Linked DNA regions of Homo sapiens: regions 2, 3 and 4 are each linked to region 1. The links are contacts of gene promoters, found by promoter capture Hi-C in blood cells and fetal thymus (Javierre and others, 2016). All regions are on one chromosome and are shown on one strand. Each heading gives the region's core, a stretch centred on a gene start or on the middle of the fragment in contact. The rest is flanking DNA. Distances are from core to core; before and after follow the strand shown. Region 1 holds the start of ZNF155 (zinc finger protein 155). Region 2 overlaps ZNF749 (zinc finger protein 749). Region 3 overlaps ZIK1 (zinc finger protein interacting with K protein 1). Region 4 has its middle 8.6 kb from the start of ZNF749.

Region 1 (2,717 bases), core at 217-2,716:
AGGAGAATCGCCTGAACCTGGGAGGCGGCCTATTGCACTGAGCCCAGATCGCGCCACTGCACTCTAGCCTGGGCGACAGAGCGAGACTCCGTCTCAGGAAAAAAAAAAAAAAAAAAAAAAGAAAAAGAGCAATACCTTTCCACAGAGCCATGGTGTGGCGTAAATGTATTTATTTCCATAAAGCCCTTAGAATTAAGTTACCAATTAAGGTTTAATTATTATCAACACCCATGCCCAAGGACACATCCTATACACTCTTGGTTGAGGTGAACATCTCTGTAAAAGAAAAAACCGGCCCGGCGCGGTGGCTCACACCTGTAATTCCAGCACTTTGGGAGGCCGAGGCAGGCGGATCACTTAGGACCACAGGTTCGAGACCAGCCTGGCCAACATGGTGAAACCCCGTCTCTACTAAAAATACAAAAATTAGCCGGGCATGGTGACGCATGCCTGTAATCCCAGCTACTCCGGAGCTGAGGACAGAGAATCGCTTGAACCCAGGAGGCGGAGGTTGCAGTGAGCCAAGATCGCGCCACTGCTGCACTCCAGCCTGGGAGACAGAGCAAACCTCATTCTCAAATAATAACAATAATAAAAACAGACTAACAAAATAAATAACTTTTTTTTAAAAAGAGAAAAGCCAAAGACCACTCGTGTAGACAGCTTTGTCCTCAGTAGCCAAGTCCCTCCCTGCAGCTCTTTTAGAAAAGTCAGGCTGGGGAAGGAGAAAGCTGTCAAACACTCTGCGTCGCCGTCCCGGATACAAGTTAAATGCTCCTCTCCCTTCGTGAAACGTGGATGCAACCCACGCCTTCCTAAAAAGAGGTCAGAGGCGTCCGGGATCATCCAGAGCCCTGCCGGGCTCCAAGAGAAGGGCCGGAGCAGCTGGAGCTCTGACCCCACCCGGGCACCTGACCACTTCGCGGGAAATTAACAGGACACCAAGTGACAGGAGCTGTTAAGTCTTTGTTTTATACCACAACTTTCAACTCCTAAAACAATTCTATCAGGATGGTCCTGAAATCCTCATTTAAAAAACGGCAATGGGAGGTACAGGGAGATTAAGTAACACCCCACGTTATATCGCGAGAAAGAGGTCGCACACTTAAGAGTGGAGGGAGGCGGACTGAACGAGGTCAAACACCTGGAAAACCCTCTAAACAGGCACACAAGACTAGACAGAGTTCTTCCCCGCCCCCCCCGAACCCCCGACGACTCCTCCGGTGGACCTGAGTACAGCCCCCAACGCCAGAAGGCTCCATCGACGGCAACGAAACTTCCCTCCCACCCCTCGCATCTCCAAACCTCAGGTCTTCTCCAGGGCTTCTTACCCCCTTAGTTGACCCCCCAGGTCGTTAGGCGCCCCTAATAACTGGTTCACTTTCGCAAAGACCCGCAAGACACATACTTGGCTCAAACCACCTTGTTAAGTAGCAGTGTCCTGCTCGGAGACCGGAAGTGTCGATGATGCCACAGGCGTCTGGACTACACTTCCCAGAATCCCCCGAATCCGCCTGCCTGAGCCAAAGTTCCCACGACTCCACAGAGCAAATGGACTCCACTTCCCAGAATTCACAGGTCCTCCTGCCTGGGCCAAAATTCCCACGCCTCCCAAGCTACTCGCGAAACGCCTGCGGGAGCCAAATTTCCTGCGCATCGACCGGGCAATTAGACTCCCGCAGGCGTTTCGCTGGTATCTTGGGAAATGGAGTCCATTTGCTCTGTGGAGGCGTGAGAATTTTGGCTCAGGCAGGTGGACCTGTGAATTCTGGCCTATCAACCTATATTTTTATTTTAAAAAAATGGAGTCTCATGTTCTATATCAATTTTTCTAAACTAAAAAAGAATACTTTTCATGGTTTTCTTTAGATAAAGTGACTGTGCCAACCACAGTATGAGGAACACTTCTCTGAAAATTGAGTGACTGCTATTTCTAAACCAGTTACAGCTGTATCCTTGCTCTGTTCTGCCCTCCCAAGAGATAAAAATTTATTGACACGCTCAATCGTAGTAGGCAGGAAACTGTGCCTAATATATTAGGGTATATCTGGCATCAAAGGCCCTTTCTGTCCCCCAGGTCCTTGCACTCTGGGCCTGTGATGGGAGGAGAAGCTGCCATAATCTGTGAAATGCCTTTGGGGTCATTCTTCCATTGTCTTGGACAATAGGTCCTGGCTTCAGTTGACATGGCCAATCCATACTAAATTCATGAATTAGTTAGTTGCTTAACCATACCCTTGTATTCTTCAGGTTTCCTGTTTTTTTTTTTTTCCAAAGTAGATAGGCTGTAAACTTTTAAAAATTTTAGTTCTGTTTCCCTTTTAATTAATAATTATTTCAGTCATTCCTCACTTCGTGCCTTTCACTACGGGTAGTCAAGATGATTCAAGCAACTTCAACACTTTGATTAGAAATTAATTCAGATAAACAATTATATCATTCACAAATTCTACCTTCCATAAAACACTAGCACCTGAATATAATTCAGCCAAATTCTTTGTCCCTTTATAACAAGAAGCTCTCTTCTCTTCCAATAACATGTTCAACATTTCTGACTGAGGTCTTCAGAATGGCCTTTACTGTCCATATTTCTACCAACATTCTGATCATGACTACCTAGGTATGCTCTAACAAGATTGATGTTTTCTCTACAGTTCTTATTCTCTATTTCTGAGCGCTAACCAGAATTGTCCTTATCAGTCCATTCATGGCAATGT
Region 2 (2,967 bases), core at 133-2,632, about 13 Mb before region 1:
ATTATAATTATTATTATTAACGGGAAGCACCATTTCCACTTCTGGGTATATGTCCAAGAAGAATTTAAAGCAGGGCCTCAGGAGGTATTTGTATATTCATGCTCATAGTGGCATTAACAAGAACAGAAGAGTGGAAGCAACCCAAATGTACACTGAAGAAAGAATACAGGAAAAGTGGCATATACATATACCACAGTCATATGCCACACATTTCTGTCTACCATGGACCACATGTATAACAGTAATCCCGTATTATAACAGAGCTAAACAACTCCTATCACCTAGTGCCACCACAGCCACTGTAACTCAATCCCATTACTCAAGTGTGTGTGGTGACACTGGTGTAAACAAACCTACTGGTCTGCCAGTCATATAAAGAGCACAGGCCGGGCGCTGTGGCTCATGCCTGTAATCCCAGCACTTTGGGAGGCCGAGATGGGCGGATCATGAGGTCAGGAGTTGGAGACCAGCCTGGCCAACATAGTGAAACCCCATCTCTACTAAAAATACAAAAAATTAGCCGGGCATGCTGGTGGGCACCTGTAATCCTAGCTACTCGGGAGGCTGAGGCAGGAGAATCGCTTGTACCCGGGAGGCGGAGGTTGCAGTGAGCCAAGATCACACCACTACACACCAGCCCAGGCAACAGTGCAAGACTCTGTCTCAAAAAAAAAATAAAGCCAGGCGCGGTGGCTCATGCCTGTCATCCCAGCACTCTGGGAGGCTGAGGCGGGCGAATCATGAGGTCAGGAGTTCGAGACCAGCCTGGCCAACATAGTGAAACGCCATCTCTACTAAAAATACAAAAAATTAGCTGAGCGTGGTGGCAGGCACCTGTAATCCTAGCTACTCGGGAGGCTGAAGCAGGAGAATCACTTGAACCCAGGAGGCAGAGGTTGCAGTGAGCCGAGATTGTGCCACTGCACTCCAGCCTGGCAACAGTGCGAGACTCTGTCTCAAAAAAAAAAAAAAAAAAAAAGTGTGAGGCAAGGCTTCAGAAAATATTCCAGAATATTGTTATCATAGGAGATAACAACTCCCTGTTATTGAGCCTGAAAACCTTCTAGTGGGACAAGATGTGGAGGCAAAAGACAGTGATATTAATGATCCTCACCCTCTGTAGGCCTTGACTAATGTGTGTGTCTGTGTCTTCATTTTTAACTTATTTTTTACGAAGTTAAAAAATTAAATAGAAAAAGTTTATAGAATATAAAGGAGTACTTCTATACAGGCTGTATAATGTGTTTGTGTTTTAAGCTATTATTACAAAAGAGTCAAAAAGCTTTTTAAAATTTTAAAAGTTCATGAAGTAAAAACGTTACAGTAGACTAAGGTTAATTTATTACTAAAGAAAAAATTAATTTAGAGTAGCCTAAGTGTACAATGTTTATAACATCTACAATAGGGTACAGTAATGTCCTAGAGCTTCACATTCACTCACAACTCACTCCCTGACTCAACCAGAGGGGTCCCGCAAGCTTCGTTCATGTTAGTGCCCTATAAAGTTTTTACCATTTTTCATACATTTTTACAGTACCTTTTGGAAACTTAGATATGTTTAGATACACATTTACTTATCATTGTGTTTCAATTACCTACAATATTCAATACTGTAACATGCTGTTAAGGTTTATATCTGAGGCGCAATGGACCATATCATATAGCCTAGGTGCGTAATAGGCTGTGCCCTTCAGGTTTGTGTAAGTACACTCTTTGTTCACACAATGACAAAATCACCTTAAGATGATTACTCAGAACACAGTCCTCTTGTTAGGCGACACATGACTACAATGGGATTTTATTCGGCCTTTAAAAAAGATGAAAATCATAAGCTATGCTACAACATGGATAAACCTTGAAGACATTTAGGGAAATAAGCCTCAAAATAAGTCACAAAAGACTAAAACTTAAGTTTCCTCATATGAGATATTTATAGTAAAATTCATACAGTAGTATTGTCAGGGGCTGGTTGGCGTAGGGAATGAGGAAGAGGAGTAGTTTAAAGCAGCGGTCCCCAACCTCTTTGGCACCAGGGACTGGTTTCATGGAAGCCAATTTTTCCACGCATCAGGGACAGAGGAGGGGGCAGACAGTTTCAGAATAAAACTGTCCCACCTCAGATCATCAGGTATTAGTTAGATTCTCATAAGGAGCACACAACCTAGATCCCTCACAGGCACAGTTCACAATAGGGCTCAGGCTGCTATGAGAATCTAATGCTGCTCATCTGACAGGAGGTGAAGCTCAGGTAGTGATGCTGGCCCGGTTCCTAACAGGCCACAGACTGGTACCAGTTTGCAGCCTGGGGGTTGTGGACCCCTGGTTTAAAGGGTATAATGTTTTAGTTTCATTAAGTTGAAAAAACTTCTGGATATTAATTGACAACAATGCGAATGACTTAACACTACTGAACAGTACAGTTAAATATGGGTTAAGATGGTAGATTTTAAGTTACCTGTAATTTGCCACAATTATAATTTTTTTCTTTTTGAGACAGAGTCTCGCCCTGTCACCCAGGCTGGAGTGCAATGGAACAATCTCAGTTCACTGCAACCTCCGCCTCCCAGGTTCAAGTGATGCTCCCTGCCTCAGTCCCCTGAATAGCTGGGATTACAGGCACCTGCCACCATGCCCAGCTAATTTTTGTATTTTTAGTAGAGATGGGGCTTCACCATGTTGGCCCGGCTGGTCTCAAACTCCTGACCTCAGGTGATCCACCCACCTCTGCCTCCCAAAGTGCTGGGATTACAGGCGTGAGCCACCACGCCTGGACATAAATGTTTTTAATGTAGTTCCCAGCAGGAAATCCTCGCAGATTTCCATCTGAACTCTTTCAACATTAGATTTACATATATTAATAGGTTCTTGGTCCGATGTGAACCTTTTGGTGCTGAATGAGGTGACAGTTTTGGTGACTTTCCTGCATTCACTCCACTAAGGCCTTTTTCCAGTATGAATTATCTGATG
Region 3 (2,700 bases), core at 58-2,557, about 14 Mb before region 1:
TGTGTATTATTATAGACTCACCAGATGAAACTACTAATAGCCATATAGATTCATTTTGGATCTGATTGCAATGAATTTGTCTTAAAAATCAATTTTGGAGACAATTCGAGGTGACTGAGCACTGATGATATATTTTATGATGCCTTAAATAATGATTGATAAAGTTATAGGAATTATGAAAGAGCTCTTATGCTTGAAAATGCATTCTGAAGAGGTGCAGCATTGAATGACAAGATGTGGGAATTGTAAGTAAAATAATTATGTGTGAAAAGAGTTGAAACAAGAATGGCTACTAAATGATAAGTAATAATGGAAGATTTAGAAAGGTTTCATAGTGCATCTGAACACAGTCCTTTCCATTTGTGTATATACTTGAAAATATCCATTAGAAGAGGAAAAATAAGTTTTTGTACCCATTACTTGTTAAGAGGGATGGACTAAAAAGGGCAGGTGGAAACTTATGGTTTCGAGTATATATTAAAATAGAAATTGTATACTTTAAATATGCAGAATTTAAGACAACTAGATTTCACTTAAGCCACTTTTAAAAACACAAGTAATAAATACTCAAAAGTCAATTCTTAATCATTTTACTGTTTTACTCTTATATATACATTGTTCTATAGTGAGCAGGTGTATGAAAATCTATCCCAAAGGCCAACGAAGCTGAAAGGCCAAAGAAGGAGGAAGAGGCCAAATTGTTTTCAGAAACATTTCATAGGGACTCATGAACAGAAGTGATGTCTTGTGCAGCTGTGAGACAATGGATCCCTGTATCTGCCCTCCAGAAGGCAGTTTCCTTTACATCCTTTATAGGACCCTTTTTGTAGTGGTCAACAAGGCTGGAGTTTTTTGTTTGTTTGTTTTTCTAGACGGAGTCTTGCTCTGTTGCCAGGCTGGAGTGCAATGGCGTGATCTCGGCTCACTGCAACCTCCACCTCCTGGATTCAAGTGATTCTCCTGCCTCAGCCTCCCAAGTAGCTGGGATTACAGGCACCCGTAAGCCACCACAACCGGCTAATTTTTCTATTTTTAGTAGAGATGGGGTTTCACCATGTTAGCCAGGATGGTCTCCATCTCCTGACCTCGTGATCTGCCCACCTTGGCCTCCCAAAGTGTTGGGATTACAGGCAAGAGCCAACACGCCCGGCCTGGAGTTTTTAGGGTAAAACGTGCAGCTCTTCACGTCTTCAGACTTTCTTGCCAAGACTCATGACCATTGGGGGAGAGAAGCATTTTGATGATATCTATGCTACTGCTTCAGAACATAGGTGACCATGACAGCTTCACTTCAAGATGGCATCAGTCTTGCCACACCACAGGCTGTATGGTTCCTACATACATGATCTTCAGGTTATCTGCGGCTACTGTATTGGCATGGTGAAAGTAGAATACAGTGGTGTGACGCTACCCACTTCTTCTCAATTCATGTTCAGTGACATTATTTTGACACCTTGTAATTGGCCATGGTGGGAGTATTTTACCAGGGAAATTGGCAAATATTAAAAACCAGGGCTTATTTGTTTCATTGAATGGTTAGACCTAAGAAAGTGATGGAGAATTTGTCAATGAAGGTAGTGTTTCAGGTATATAGTGTCTGTAGTTGTTACACTGTGAATAGACCAAAAAACTGAGAAATTATTTTCCCAGTATTTGAAAACAATTTTATCATTTAGCAAATAAGTGCATCACATTACTGAAGAATGAGTAAAGTTTCAACATAAGTCTTTGTTATACGTCTATTTATTAATGAAAAAGTATCACCAACATCCATTTAAAAATAAGCAAAAGACATTAATAAACATTCTTCCAAAGAGGATATACAGGTGGCAACTAGATACAAGATGTTCAAATGTTCAATACCATAAAATACCAGAAAAATGCAATAAAATCACAGACAGATGCTATTATACAGCTATTAAAACAACTAAAATTAAAAAGACTAACCATACCAAGTATGGCAAGAATGTAGAGAAATAAGAAGGTTCACATACTGTTGATGAGAATGCAAATGGTACAGTTAGGTTATAGTCTGGCCTTGTCTTTAAAAGTGACGCATTCACGTACACTGTACTACTGACACAGGAGAAATAAAGCATTTCTGCATATTAAGAGTTATATGCCTATGTTCATAGTAGCATTATTTGCAACAGCCCAAAACTGGAAAGCATCCAACTGTTTATCCAAATTGTGACATATCCACAGACTATTTCTCAGCAATACAAATGAACTATTCACATAAGCAATATTGATAAATCTTAAAAGTAATTGTGCATCAGCTGGTGTGGTGGCTTACGCCTGTAATCCCAGCACTTCGGGAGGCTGAGGCGGGCGGATCACGAGGTCAAGAGATCAAGACCATCCTGGCAAACATGGTAAAACCACATCTCTACTAAAAATACAAAAATTAGTTGGGCGTGGTAGTGCATGCCTGTAGTCCTAGCTTCTCAGGAGGCTGAGGCAGGAGAATCGCTGGAACCCAGGAGGAGGTTGGAGTGAGCCAAGATCATGCCACTGCACTCCAGCCTGGTGACAGACTGAGACTCCATCTCAAAAAAAAAAAAAAAATTGTGCATCATCAGGAAAAATGGAGTAAGTATTTTACGTTTCAATTCACATAAAATCCTAGAAAACACAAACTATTCTCCTGTAGGGAAAGTAAATGACAGGACTCCTGAAGGCCTGGAAAGTACACGCAGA
Region 4 (2,700 bases), core at 97-2,596, about 13 Mb before region 1:
AACTACCAATAATCAAATTCACGGCGCGATTTTGGATAGAAGTCCGTCACTTTCCCAGGAACTCCCGAAGCAATGCAAATTGGGCCTGATGTGGATTGAAAGCTATTTTGTCTTCTTATTTCTTCAAGAGCACAAAAAGTTGAAGGCCCCAAAAACCATTCACTTTTTCATTCTGGCAAAGCCTAATTTTGTTCTCAACCCGCAGCACACAGTGAAGAGAACCCCAAGAGTAAATGTAGCTTAAACAATATGACCTTTATCATCAGAAGAAAACAGCAATGCTTAGGTGGAAATTGACTGGGTTGGGAAGCTTGGAAGGTAGAAAATTTATCATCAACATTATCAGTATCAGACAACTAATAATACCTCTGAAAAAAGGAAATCTCTACAAGCTGCCAGCTGAAGTTGGCGTGTGTTCTCTGTCCAAAGCTGGGTGATGTCCACACCCAAACCAGTCAGGGGACTGGGAATGAGGCCCCCAAAGGGAACAAATGACTGAATATTCCAGATAAAGGTAGAGAACACAGCAATCTATGCACCACCCCCCCACCCCCCATTTTTTAAAAACATTTAACCAGAAGTCCAGACCTTATCACTCTCTAAGTAATTTAAGGTGACTAAGGTGATGCACATTGTGGCACCATGACAGCTAATAGCAGGAGTCTTCTGTAATGCACACTTTCAGCAACTTAACTCTGGAAAGGCCCCAGGCAGGGTCAGAAAGTGCAACATCATTCACAAAAATTTACCATATATCTGACAATTACAACAAATCTCCCTTGCGTGGATGTTTGGATGTGAGATTCAATTTCAGGCTGAGATCTCCCTCAACAAGCTAACACAGGGTCATCCAAGGGAAAGAATACAGTCATGGGTTCTTAGTTTGTTTCTAGCTGGGCCAGTAAAGCTCCTTTCTCATCTCATTCCTCTTGTCCACCTACCACTAGAGACAGAAACAAAACCATGGCTTCAGGCTAAAAGCCTAAAACAAAACAGAGCAACAAAAAAATAGGGTGAGTAAGACAAGCTCGATAGAGCTTTGCTGTTTTTGACCTGTTGACAAAGGAAAAAAAGTATATTGCCTGCATTCCTAAGGACTTTCTCCAGGATGAACTTACTCTTGCTCAGTGAAGTTAGGCTGAATACTTTCTAACATTTGCTGCACTCATAATATTCTGCTGGTTGTATAGTAATAACATACAAAGGTGTTTTTCTGATGTCAGGACATGTCACAATGATAATCATAAAATGTAGACCACTTTGCTACTTACAGCTTGAAACCTAAGGACATAGGCAGGGCTGCAAGAGTTATGAGGGAACCCAAGATAACAGCAAGCTGGAGCTTAGGGGGCAGCTTGTGTGTGCCATGTAAATTGGGGTTAGCTAGGTTTTCAGGGACCCCTGTGCATTGACCAATGGAATAATTTTACAAGCTCCTGGGCACAGAAGCTGTCCCTAGATATCTGATTCCTGATCCTGGGGTGATTGGGTCTTACATATTGTGGCCCAGAGTTTGAGAGCCTGATAAGGAAAATGGTTGGGAGTGTGGACTTAATCTGCTGCTCCAAAATTGTAACTGACAAGCCTCTACCAAGGGCCTTAATGCTAGGCAAAAACATTATTCTTTTGATGTTAAAAAAAAAAAACTGGATATCCACACGCAAAAGAATTAAGTTGCTAAAATGAACTCAAATGCATCAAAGACTTATAAAACAGATATATTAGACTCCATTTAAATTCAAAATTCCTGTGTAAAAAAGGACATAATGGACAGAGTGAAAAGGAAAAAGACTCAATGGGAGAAAGTATTTGAAAACCACATATCTGAGAAGGAATATCTAGAATATGAGGGGTCTTCAAAAGTTTCATGAAAAATGAGAAAAAAATGTATATTATGAAAAAATTGGCCAGGGGTGGTGGCTTAAGCCTGTAATCACAGCACTTTGTGAGGCCCAGGCAGGTGGATCACCTGAGGTCAGGAGTTCGAGAGCAGCCTGGCCAACAGAGTGAAAACCCATCTCTACTAAAAATACAAAAATTAGCTGGGCGTGATTGTGGGCACCTGTAATCCCAGCTACTCAAGAGGCTGAGGCAGGAGAATTGCTTGAACCCAGGAGGCGGAGGTTGCAATGAGCCGAGATCATGCCACTGCACTCCAACCTAGCGTTAGTGAGACTCTGTCAAAAAAAAAAAAAAAAATTATGTATGGATTTCAATTTTTTACACCAAAGTGAATTTGTAATAACTTGTTCTAACAAGTATGAACAGGATCTAGTTTGAGGCACTAAGAACGGCATCAGTTTGAAAACACCTTCTATCAGAGGAATGTGAATTCAGCTAAGGTTGAAGAAAGAACAAATATCAAATATATAGTAAAGCTTGGCTCTAAAAATGGTAAAACCGGCCGGGTGCGGTGGCTCGCGCCTGTAATCCCAGCACTTTGGGAGGCCGAGTTTGGGCGGATCACAAGGTCAGGAGTTCAAGACCATTCTGACCAATATGGTGAAACCCCATCACTACTAAAAATACAAAAATTAGCCGGGCGTGGTGGCGCATGCCTGTAATCCCAGCTACACAGGAGGCTGAAGCAGAAGAATCGCTTGAACCCAGGAAACGGAGGTTGCAGTGAGCTGAGATCGCGCCACTGCACTCCAGCCCAGACGACAGAGTGAGACTCCGTCTCAAAAAAAAGAAAAAGAA

What was found. Contacts are between HindIII fragments. The CHiCAGO score rates a contact against its expected background, and 5 or more counts as called.
Region 2: a fragment that was not itself captured here is called in contact with the fragment with the promoter of ZNF155 in region 1 in 1 of 17 cell types (non-activated CD4 T cells); the score reaches 7.8 in non-activated CD4 T cells.
Region 3: a fragment that was not itself captured here is called in contact with the fragment with the promoter of ZNF155 in region 1 in 1 of 17 cell types (non-activated CD4 T cells); the score reaches 7.4 in non-activated CD4 T cells.
Region 4: a fragment that was not itself captured here is called in contact with the fragment with the promoter of ZNF155 in region 1 in 1 of 17 cell types (non-activated CD4 T cells); the score reaches 10.8 in non-activated CD4 T cells.

The regions. Positions count from the first base shown.
Region 1 is chr19:43,982,937-43,985,653 of GRCh38, reverse strand. ZNF155 (zinc finger protein 155) reads right to left here and starts at 1,466. Exons shown (of 5, transcript NM_198089.3): 1 at 1,409-1,466. RefSeq lists a silencer at 1,570-1,769. The HindIII fragment of the contact is 8,717 bases long and covers 1-2,717 here.
Region 2 is chr19:57,445,453-57,448,419 of GRCh38, reverse strand. ZNF749 (zinc finger protein 749) reads right to left here. Exons shown (of 3, transcript NM_001023561.4): 3 at 1,319-2,967. The coding sequence ends at 2,935. Among named protein-coding and RNA genes, the nearest start is that of VN1R1, 10 kb to the left of the region's middle. The HindIII fragment of the contact is 196 bases long and covers 1,285-1,480 here.
Region 3 is chr19:57,592,916-57,595,615 of GRCh38, reverse strand. It overlaps ZIK1 (zinc finger protein interacting with K protein 1), which reads right to left. Exons shown (of 4, transcript NM_001010879.4): 4 at 1,726-2,700. Among named protein-coding and RNA genes, the nearest start is that of ZNF530, 5.6 kb to the left of the region's middle. The HindIII fragment of the contact is 4,262 bases long and covers 1-2,700 here.
Region 4 is chr19:57,425,418-57,428,117 of GRCh38, reverse strand. No RefSeq gene overlaps it. Among named protein-coding and RNA genes, the nearest start is that of ZNF749, 8.6 kb to the left of the region's middle. The HindIII fragment of the contact is 2,068 bases long and covers 313-2,380 here.